Linked DNA regions of Homo sapiens: all the other regions are linked to region 2. The links are contacts of gene promoters, found by promoter capture Hi-C in human tissues and cell types (Jung and others, 2019). All regions are on one chromosome and are shown on one strand. The core of a region is centred on a gene start or on the middle of the fragment in contact, and the rest is flanking DNA. Distances in the headings are between cores, read along the strand shown.

Evidence for each region. The method cuts DNA at HindIII sites, captures the fragments that hold promoters and counts their contacts. A contact is called where the count stands out against the background at its distance.
Region 1: a contact is called between the fragment with the promoter of CDK18 here and the fragment with the promoter of RBBP5 in region 2, in 1 of the 25 tissues and cell types used here (hippocampus).
Region 3: a contact is called between a fragment that was not itself captured here and the fragment with the promoter of RBBP5 in region 2, in 2 of the 25 tissues and cell types used here (hippocampus and neural progenitor cells).

The regions. Positions count from the first base shown.
Region 1 is chr1:205,502,956-205,506,738 of GRCh38, forward strand. CDK18 (cyclin dependent kinase 18) reads left to right here and starts at 1,714. Exons shown (of 16, transcript NM_212502.3): 1 at 1,714-1,841. RefSeq lists an enhancer at 3,638-3,783. The HindIII fragment of the contact is 16,948 bases long and covers 1-3,783 here.
Region 2 is chr1:205,119,664-205,123,296 of GRCh38, forward strand. It overlaps RBBP5 (RB binding protein 5, histone lysine methyltransferase complex subunit), which reads right to left and starts at 2,315. Exons shown (of 14, transcript NM_005057.4): 1 at 2,192-2,315. The coding sequence starts at 2,210. RefSeq lists enhancers at 375-933, 2,097-2,276, 2,417-2,636 and a silencer at 2,998-3,292. The HindIII fragment of the contact is 11,521 bases long and covers 1-3,633 here.
Region 3 is chr1:204,818,951-204,822,487 of GRCh38, forward strand. No RefSeq gene overlaps it. Among named protein-coding and RNA genes, the nearest start is that of NFASC, 7.9 kb to the right of the region's middle. The HindIII fragment of the contact is 4,246 bases long and covers 1-3,408 here.

The DNA.
Region 1 (3,783 bases), core at 464-2,963, 380 kb after region 2:
CAGGCATCCGTAACACTAAGCCTCCTCCTATAGCATCCTAACTGTTTGCTTCCCTGCCGCATTACACCAAGAGCTTCTTGAAGGCAGGGACTGGGTTATACTCATCTTATGTGCCCAGAGCCCTGGCTATCATTTGGCACATAAGAGATGTTGAGAAAGTGTTTGTGGAGACCTCTTGACTTCACCCCCCTAGTTCCTTGAAATTCTACCCTTTGGCCCCACTCTCTCTAATCCGCCAGTAAACAGTTCCTTGGCCATAGTCCTTCTCCCTTTCCCTCCCTGCCCCTTCCAAACCTCTTTATGGCCTCCTGCTCCCCAGGCTTCTCACCATCCACTGGACTACAGAGCCAGGAGGTTGCTGCACACCTAAAGGCTCTGGATCCATGCACCCCGACAACACTTGGCAGTTTCATTTTTAGGAAGTGCTGTGCCCAGGAAATCTGCATGCCTTGGCAGAGAAAGCGAGGTAAAAAAAAAAAAAAGAGTTGGGAGGCCCTCTGTGAGATGTCAACTACCCACAGGTCACTTTCATGCATGGGCCCAGTGTCTTCCTTCATTCTCCTGTCTCCAGCTGACAGTGGGACCTCAGGCCCATGTCTTCCAGAAGGAAACTGTTCTATTCTCAACAACTCACAGTCCCCAGGGAAAGGGTTCAGGTAGAAGCACATGTACACTGTGGAGCACCCCCTCCTAAGGAGACTTTCCCTGTGGGAGACCCCAGACTGCAGCAGCCAAGCCCTCTGGTAGGGCAGGGGACACAGACTGCCTTGATGAGGTGCCATAGAGCCAAGGCACACCTCCTCTCCTCACAGCCCTCAGGAGGAAGCAGAGATGAGAGGGGCCTGGCGGTGGGGCACTGTGCCCTTCACCCCCATCCCCAGATTTTTGTTTTGTTTTTTTTTTTGATCCTTGAAGTCAGATGATGTGGGTGCAATGGCCATTGGCCTGAGTTCTAATCATGGCTCGCCATGAACTCTTGTGGCACTTTAGGCCAGTTCAATTGCTTTGCTGGGCCTCAGTTTCCCCTTCTGTAAAATGAGAGTGCCACTAGCTGAACTAGCCATTCTGTAACCCTTCTTGGATGATTCTCAAATATCCTGTGGAGTTTAATTCCAAAAGGACAAGTTGAATTATCCTTCGGGGAGGGAAATGTGAATGATGGCTGGTAACAAGGGCTTCATTCAGGTCCTGGAGAGGTGGGAACTTTGTCCGGAAAGGTAAGTGACAAGTCCCACTGGATAGGGTAGAAGGGGAGCCCGAGGGCTACTATTGTCAAGAAAATGACCACCAAAATCTGTCCATGCACATTCGTTCCTAGGGCGCCAGGTACAGGGAGGTACCTAGGAGAGGTAGGAGCACCGCTTTTAGAGACAGGCAGGCACTCTCAGTGTACCCCTGGCGCCTTGGTGTCCTGGGGTGATCCAGTCCAGAAGGCCTCATCCCCTAGCCAAGGCTCTCAGGGCCGGTTTTAGAAACGAAACAGGAAGAGGCACTTGGACCCTGGTTCCCAGAGTGGGAGAAAGGGGTGGGCACCCGGGCAGAGGGAGCCCTGGGGATTGGTAGCGGCTGTGGGCAGGGCGGGAGGGCCGGGGGCGGAGTCAACTTGTACATGTGAAAAACTCTGGCGGGGGCCGGGCATTTTCCTTCCTCCTCCTCCTCCTCCTCCTCCTCCCTCCTCTTCCCCACCTTCCTCCACTCCCTCCCTTCCCCTCCCCTTCTACCTCCTCCTCGGCCAGCTCAGGTTGCAGCTTCTCTGGGGAACTGCTCACCTTTCCGGAGCAGGGGAAGCTGCCCCGTGCCCGGGAGGGAGCGGGCGCACCGCGGCCCCCAGGACACGCGCTGTGAGTCCCGCGGGCGGTGCGCCTGGGAGGAAGGGGGAGGTCGGAGGAGCGGGCACCGCGGCGCCGGGTATAAGGAGCAAAGGTAAGCGGAACGGCTCTTAAAGGCGCAGTTTTGCTTTTGCCCTGAGGCGAGAGGTTGGAGGGAAATACCGGAGCGGCGAGGGGAGAGCAGAGATCACGAGGCGTGATCTGTGTGATACTGTGTTGTGTGTTGAGGGGTGGGGGGTGCCCTCGAAAGGCCACTCGTAAGTTCCAGGTGCTTGAGAGGGAGGGTTATTTTGCAATCTCAGACCCCGCGCCCCCTTAGGGAGTCTCCATCTGGGATCACTTTGGCCCCTGGGCTCCCGTCTGAACCCTACAAAGCAAAGTTTTCCACCCAGTCCGGAACCAGGCGCTTTCTAAGCTCCCTTCATTCTGGGAAGGGCAAGGGTCAGGAGTCTCCAGGGACCAAAGGACCCGAGAGTGTGGGGCCACATCGCTGCCTTGAAGGGCTTCCTGGGCTCTGGTGAACTTTCCAGAGCGGCAGGCAGGGGGTGGGAGGCCGGAGCCCTGGGAAGAACGTGGAAGGACACGTGAAGCCCTGCAGGTCCCAGTTCTGGGGGAGGCAGGGGTCTGGGGAATGCTGCTGCTTCTCTCTTTCCACCCCGGAAGACCAAAGGGGCAGTGCCCCCCTCCACCCCTCATCAACAGGCGACAGAGGGTTAATGCAGCAGAGGGAAAGGAGGCTGGGTGGGGCCGGGGGGAGTGGGCGGTGACCTGTTGGGCTAAGGAGATGTGCCTTGAGGATTCTGCTGTAGTTGAGGGACACCATCAGGAATCTGAAATCCAAAATCGGGTCTGGACTGGAGGCCTCTGTTTTCGCCCTGTGGGGGGCGGGGATTCCCTGAAGGTGTCTGCAGACCTTGTGCTGGGTGGGAGTTGGGCTGCAGAAACAGTGAGGGGTTTTCTGTGCTGCAGGGTCAGCACCCTCCTAGGCACCAGCCCTGCCTCTCTTCATTCTCTCTGGGCACCTCCCGGCAGTCGGGGTGGGAGGATTGACACTGTGGGAGTGAGAGGCCCTGGAACCTCTTCCGCGCTATCTGCTACTGTCTCCCCTTCTTCCCCACCCCTAGCCCAGCCCTCGGCAGTTCCCCAGCTGTAGCCTGGGCCCTGTGACTCACTAACACCACCGGCTTGCCCCTCCTGTGTCAGCACCCAGTGAGCTTCGGCATGTTCGCGTGGCATTCCCCACCCGGGCATGGGCATGCAGCACATTCCTGGACACGGGCCTGAGAGGATGCCTGGAGCGCCTGGTGGACTGGCACGTCCTCAGAGATCCCCTGCCTTTAGCCTGGCCTTGGGAGGGGCCTGGGAAAACGGTGCTGAGGGTGCTGAGGGTCGGTGGAGTACAGGGCGACACTGGCTCCAGGTCCGGGTTTGCATCCTGAAGGCGTTCCAGAGAGAGGGTCACCTTGCCACAGCAAAGCTGCTATCTCGGGTTACCCTTTCCCAGCCACCTCTTGTGCAGCTGAGGAGGCTGTGGGGCTGACCCCTCCCCCACCCTTAATCTGGGGTGTACCTGACCATTGGGTTCCCAGGACTCTCCCCACTGGGTCCCCAGGACTCTCCCCATACCCTGCCAGGAGAATGGAAGAAGCTCTCCACGCGTGCCAGAAGAAGTTCTTCCCAAACTTATCGGGGGTGCCAGAGGCAGAGTAGACAAGCCTTAGTGGCCACCATTTGTTGAATATCTACTGTGCGCCAAGCAGTGCGTCACAACTTTATGAAGTAGGTATTATTATCATCCCCATTTTACAGGTGAAGAAACTGAGTCTCTGAGAGACCAACTTTTCCAAGGTCACACAGAGGTGGGATCCAGCCCACTTCCGTCTGACCCCAAGCCCCTGCTGTTAACCCCTGCCCCATTGTGGGGAGGTTCCGGCCCACTCTGGAGTTCTCTGGT
Region 2 (3,633 bases), core at 1,065-3,564:
CCCTCAGACTCAACTGCTCTGATTGGCTTCTATGAAGACGCCACACCAATCTGTACTCTCTTCTTCCTCTACATAGATTAATACATGGAAGGCACTTGAAAATCTGCCTAGCTCAGAGAAAGTACTTTATAACCGTTAGCTAACTTATTATCTCCACTTATTCCTCCTCTTAACCTCTAACTACAGATTGTGTGCTTGGCAATTTTCTTTTCTCCCCCTCCCACTTTTTCTCTAGATCATGTCCTCTATTCACAAGGTTTCAATGAGCCCATCTGAAAGAATACAAATCTCTCCCATAAATCCAAACCTGTCTCCTGACCCCTAGACCACATTCAGCTTCTCCAAAGCTGTCTTTTTCCAATGACCTTACACTTTATCAACAGCATCATTATTTGCTCTCACCATTTTTCACGTCACTCTCTTACTCATCAGCACTATATGCAATCTATTCTCAAATTTGTCATCCCTACCTCCTCAATGTCTTTTCTATTTCCTAGCTCAGGCCTTCCTCATCACTCATATAATCTACCCCTCCAAACTGGTTTTACACTCCTCCAAAACTCAACTCCACATTGCTGTCAGACAAACCTTACAAACTCATAGCTCTGATTGAGTTACTAAGTCAAAATCCTTCAATGGATCTACCCTACCTTCCCTAAAAAGCCCAAACTTTTGAGCTAGGCATTCGAGAACCAACACAAAATAGATGGCACCGATCCCATCCCCTGGCATTCTCTTTATCCACAACCTGGCCAAGCAGGAAAATTCTTTAGGTCTTCTCTCACTGATGCCTACTGAACATCCCTCCCATATTTTCATACTTCAGCCTGTTGATATTTTACCAACCTTAAAAATCCACTTAAGGCCGGACACTTTGGGAGGCTGAGGTGAGTGGATTGCTTGGGGCCAGGAGTTTGAGACCAGCCTGGCCAACACAGTGAAACCCCATCTCTGCTAAACATACAAAAATTAGCCAGGCATGGCAGTGCGCACCTGTAGTACCAGCTACTCAGGAGGCTGAGGCACGAGAATCACTCGAACCCAGGAGACAGAGGTTGCAGTGAGCCAAGACTGTGCCACTGCACTCCAGCCTAGGCGACGGCGCGAGGCTGTCTTAAAAAAAAAAAAAAAAGTCCACTTAAAACTCCAACTCCTCCACAGGTTTGGGGGGTTTGTTTTTCCTGGTTGACTTCTTCCTTTACCCCAAAGACATTCACTCTCTGTTCCAAACATTCTTAGCAACTGGTAATGACTCTTTCAGGCCTGCCTACATTCTGCAATATCCTACAGCTATTTTACATAATCACCTTAAACTCCCTGCTTAATGAAAAGCTCTTTAAGGGCAAAGACCATTTTTTATGTATCTTTGTAGCCCTTTTGACAATTAACATATCTTCTGACTTTTTTAAAAGAGAAACCTAACCATTAGGAACAGCAAGTAGTGCAGAAGTCCTTGAAAACCTCAGCTACCCCTAGAATACCATGCTAAATGTCACCTAATGGAAGTCCAGGAGAAAGGACCTACAGTTTTTAAATAATCTGGATAGGAGGTAAGGAGGCAATGACTCAAAGTGAGGGCGACAAAAGACAACTCCCTCCGTATTTCACACCTCAGTGTTTTACACACCGTCCCTAGCAAAGGACCTTAAACAGAAAGTTAGGATAATTGGATTCCAGTGCCAACTATGCCATTTACTTGCTTAGTGCCTAGCCATTACCCTCTGAGCCTTTATTCATCTGTTCAATGAGAAGCTTCTACCAGAAGATCTCCAAGTCCCCTCCTTAGACTTCTCTTTTCTACAAAAAGATTAACCTGTTCAGGCACCCAATTCCCTGACAAGTCTTCAAAGCTTCATCCCAAGCCTCACTTCTTCAAATTCCATCTCCAACAACTCTGGTCCTGGCTGCTCTGGGTACTTCAACACCTGCGATCCTCATAATCAAAGCTAAGTCACAAACTGTCTGTCCCCATCGCTCCATAATTGATATGAAAGTGGCCTCGGGAGGGGCAATGCAACCTACTCGGGCAGAAGGTGGGCTTCCTCCTCCCGCTGCTGCTCCACATCAGGTGTGCCCAGTGATCCATAGCCGAACAGTGTCCCTAAGATTGCAGCCTGACTCCCCTCCCGCCTGGGTTCCCTCCTTTCCAGTACCCAACGCTTCTCTAAAACGCAGCCACAGCCCTTCTCACCCAGCAACTCGAGGTTCATCCCTGCGGACTGTGGCCGCCCGGTCTCAGCTCCGGCAACAACACCTTCTCCCCGGCCGGCTTCAGCAACTTGCGTCTAAGTGGTGGACGCCGCGAAGAGACTGGCGCAAGCTCCGAAGACTTTCGGCCTTAGAAGGCCCCGCGGCTTCCGCTTTCTTCCCCCGCCTTCCTTGTTCGTTTCAGGTGGGCTGCCCAAATATATGCCTGACCAAAATCAAGCATACACTCTCTCGGAAACAATTAATTATGATCTTTGCTGAGGTACAACAATGTTATCGTCACTAGGGACTTTAAATAGCGCGACAATTTAAGATTATTTGCTCCGGGAACATGTAGGTGAGGTAGAAATTCCAGGCATACAGTTAACCTACTAGTTCTTGCCCTGTTGTGTGTTCAGCGGCGTTGTCCGGGCGGGCTACCTCAGACTCCGCAGGAAAGGTTCCGGACAAGTCCTGCTAATGCAAGAAACCAGGGAAGGTCGTCCCCTAGTGCTCGGGTGTGTAGCGCCGCTGACCTCACCAAGGCGCGTACTTACCCTGTATGTAGGTGGCGTTGCAGGGTGTTTCGGTCTCGTGAAAATTATTTCTCATTTGTAAAGATATGCTATTGATCCTACAGAAAGGTACGACAACATATGTTAGGCCTGTCTGTGTTAAGATAATAAAAACCTTATTATCTAAGGTTTTACCCTTTACCAAACAGTGTTGACAGGGACGCTGTGAAAAAGACTGTGAAAAAGAATTGGAATGAGGGGTGGACTGAGTTTCCCGGAGCTCAGTCATACAGAACTCCAATGAAATACCCAAAGCAATTAGAGAAGTCCAGTTACTGGTATCTAGCGAAAGAGCAAATTTTATATGAACAAATTCCTACTATAAATGCTGTGGCTCATCAGAAAAAGGAAACAACGTCAAAGGCTCGCTGCAGAAAATAGTACTCGGGCTAGGTCTCCGACAATGGAAAAATACACATACACAAGTTTATTAATCGCAGTATTGTCTGCAATTGCAAACTTTTGGAAACAATAATGAAACTTTTGAACTAGGGAGCCCAGCATTTTCATGTTGCCCAGGGCCCTGCAAATTATGTAGCTAGTCCAGTCTGCCTCTACTTGACAAATTTGCAGAAAAAGCAGCCTCATTCACACAGTGCACCCTGTCCCTGGGCCCCAGTTGATTGCTCTTTCAGTAAGCCCCTGACCTAAGCTCAACCCAATTAAATTCCTTTCCCAAGAATTTGGAATGGGAATTAAGTGGCCCCCACAGTCTGACACATCGATTGAAGAGAGTAAATGTGAATTAAGGAGCTATTTAAAGCGCCTAATAATAGATGGACACCATGGTAGTTGGCTGCAGGTTGCAGAATGAAGCAGAAGTCCAGAAACTAGTCAAAGATAATACTTGGTGTATCCAATTAGTTCCCAA
Region 3 (3,537 bases), core at 36-2,535, 300 kb before region 2:
ATGTTCTCATTAAATCTGAGCCAAAATGATGATCCATGAAGATATTTCATGTTCTAGAACCCTTGTTATAGCACTGATACCCCATGTTGAAGTGCATGGAAATAGAGAAAAGTTGGCCCCAGAGCAATCCCAGCCAAAGGCCCTGTAGCAGGGTGTTTGATGCCAACCGGACCAATGCTAAAACCCTTTTGACTGGTGCCAAAGCCCAGCCCAACCTTGTGTGACTGCAGGTTTCTATCTTACTGCTCCTGAACGCAGGCCTATTTGTCAGCCTTGGTACTGTCTTTGCTCATGTTGAGTTCAATTTGGTGCATATTTACTGAAGAAGGGAATGTGAAAAGCAGGATAAAGGAAGTTGCCAAGCCAGGATGTGTCCATGTAAAGGCACATCATACTTTGGCCTGATTCACAGATACTCTGAGTGTAACTCCTCCGAAGAATAGTCATCCTTGAGGCAAGGGGAAGGGATTTTTGCCCCTTGTAAGTCATCACTGGCAACTGCAACCTCCACGCATCTCAGGGAGAGGCAGGTCCTGAAGTGGGATCAGGGCTTCAGGGAGGGACACAGGTGTGACCCCTTCCCCATTAGCTGCAGCACTCACAGCAGCTGGGGGATGGCAGCACCAGCTCTAAAGTGGATATGGCTGGGTCACTAGCAGTGTCTATGTCTGGTTTCCACTTTTTAAGAACGCATCATGCATCATGAGGTTGCCATGGAAGCTATGACACAGAAATTCTAAGCTGGAAGTGGCAATAACAACAGGGACACAGACATGTGACTGAGTGGCTCCAGGGCAATAATGTGCCGGAACAAGCTTATGCCAGCTCACAGGAGCTGATTGTTAAATTTTCAGGAACTTTGCAAGCCAGCTGTGAGAGACAGCCATCAGGAAACATTAAATTATATAAACTTACAATTAAATAATTACATTAAATGAAAAAGTAGAAATAACTCGAAACCCATCATTTTCTAATGATTTTCCTGTGTTTTACTATTATCTATGATCTTGAGGTTATTTACGTTCATAGTAGCTGTATGGTGGAAATGTAATATAATGGTCTCTCCTTCATCACATTGAGTGACATCATGTTGTCATCTTGAGATTGACCATGGCAGGGGAATTTACATCACAGAAATCAGAAAATGCTATACCTCAGGGGTTTTTTTCTTTCCAGTGAACCAGTTGTTAACTATTTACTAGCGCACCACTGATTCAGATGGACTCATTCTCCCCCTAATATGCACCAACGCACACAATAGCCGAATGCTTATCCATGGAGAGGTTCTTCCTGGGCAAGGATGGATGAGCAGCTTTTGTTTGCTCTTGGAGTTTTTTAAAGCTGAGTCTGAATAAGAAAAGGGGTTTCATTTCTCTCACTCCTACATCTTTGCAGGTAGGATTCACCTGGTCATAGCACTTGGTTCGTATGTAGCAGAGGGAACTTATGGCCCATGAAAATGTCTCAGGTACTTTTAATATTTTCCTTAAATGATGACTGTTCATCAATTTGTTTAAAATGCTCTCTTGTGTCTGAGAGGATATGGCACCACTTATTTCAGTCCCAGCTTCAATGAGGGGGTGAATGATGAGGACTTATTACAAGTCAGAAAGTCCCTAAGGAAATATAAGGAAAATATCATTTACTGCAGCTCCTAACACCTAAGAACTGAAGGAGTGAGTCCACTTGGGGCCCTGAGAAGGAACAAGATTTAATTATTAAGGCTATGTTATTTATAAAGCTTAATAGAGTAATTCTTTGTTGCTAATGAAGTCGTAGAGGACCCTTAAAAGGAAGCCTGCACAATTACATGTAAAACTGTGACAAATCTTGTATTTAGAAGCATACACCATCCCATCTGCCACTGTCAGATCCACTCTCCCAGGTCTACCCAGAGGAGGTGGGAGGCAGGAAGGCCACCCACCTCGGGCCTGGCCTCTCAGGTGTGCAGTTTGCAGACCTGAAATATAAAAGCTTATTTTAAACAGACAACTCCTCCAGCCCACTTCCCAGGGGTTCTGTGCTAATAAATTGGCATTAATAAGATAAACTAATTGGGGGTGGCCAGGCCCACAGGCTGGGTTCTCAGCTGCGACCTCCTGGCTCCATGCCCTACTCCTGCTGATCCTGCCAGCCAGCAGAAATTGTGTTGGGGGTGGAGGCAGGGGCAGGACAGGATAGAAACAGAGGAGTCTGGGGTCTGGGGTCTAGGGTCTAGAGACTGGAGCACAGTACCCCTGACTTGCTACAAAGTGAAGGCGAAGTCTCCTTTCCTTTTCCCCAGCTGGGTGGGTCTGGCCCAGTGCAGGAGACATCCTTAACCATTTGGACTTAACAGTTTCTTTAACAGAATAAAATAATAACCCACAGGAAGTGAAAAAGACCCTCAAGGTACAGGGACCACATTTTCCTGATAGAAAGCTGAGGTACTTCTGGTAGGTAATAGCTTAAAAAAAGAAAACTGAGACACTTTCTGTGACAAAAGATTTTCAGACATTTGCTATGTGCAAGAAGCAGTGTCAGAAAGACAATTTAGAGGCTGAAATGTTGCAATGGATAGGACATTTCCATGGTTTATTGAAAACAACAGAAAGACCATCATAAATCTTACCTTATCCAGAAAAATCAGTGGTTGCCATGATGGAGACCTTCTGTGGTTGCTACGTGAAGACAAATATTTTCTTTGGCTATATTTCAATAGCCAGCATGGTTATTTCTGTCTAATATGTTTATTTCTCCAGGAAATAATTCTAGCCAAGTAATGTCCATTTCAAGAAGGGAAACAGACACTAGTTTTTAGGCTGTGAGGACGTCAAACCTCTTTGTATTTCCCTTCTTCGGTCTGTTCATTCTCTCTATATTTGATGATACCTACGCATAGTCTGTTTACTTCATTTGACCCATATTTACTCATCGAGAGGCCATTCTTTACAATGTGTTTTCAGATGTTCTCATGCCTGTCTTAGACTATAAATGTCTGTGTAATTCTTTGATCAGCAGCTAGCACAGCAGCGGTCACAGTACTGCACACAGAGAGGTCCTTCATTCATACAGGCCCACTCTGAACAGTTGTGCAGGTCACGCACTGCATAACTTCAGCTGGGCCCATCATAATGTAGTCCAGTGCTGTTCAATAGAACTTTCTGCAATTATAGCAATGTTCTTTAATCTGTGTCATTTAATACAGTGGCCGCTAGGCACATGCAGCTCTTGTACACTTATAATGTGGTTAGTGTGACTGAAGAGCTGAATTTTTAATTTTAGTTAAATTTAAATAGTCACATGCGGCTAGTGGCTACTGTCATTGGATAGCACTGTCTATATTCATAGCAGCTCTGCTTTTATTCATACTTTTATTTATCATGCACTCATCCATAGCTTCAGCTATGAGCAGTGTATAGTGCTGGACCCTGTAGATACAATGAGAGGAAGATGGTCCCTGTTCTAGGAAACTTCCAGTTGGAAACGCAGTGCAGTAAGTGCTATGAGGGAAGCCCTTACTGTGTACACTGCTGCACAGATGAGAGGCTGAGTCTG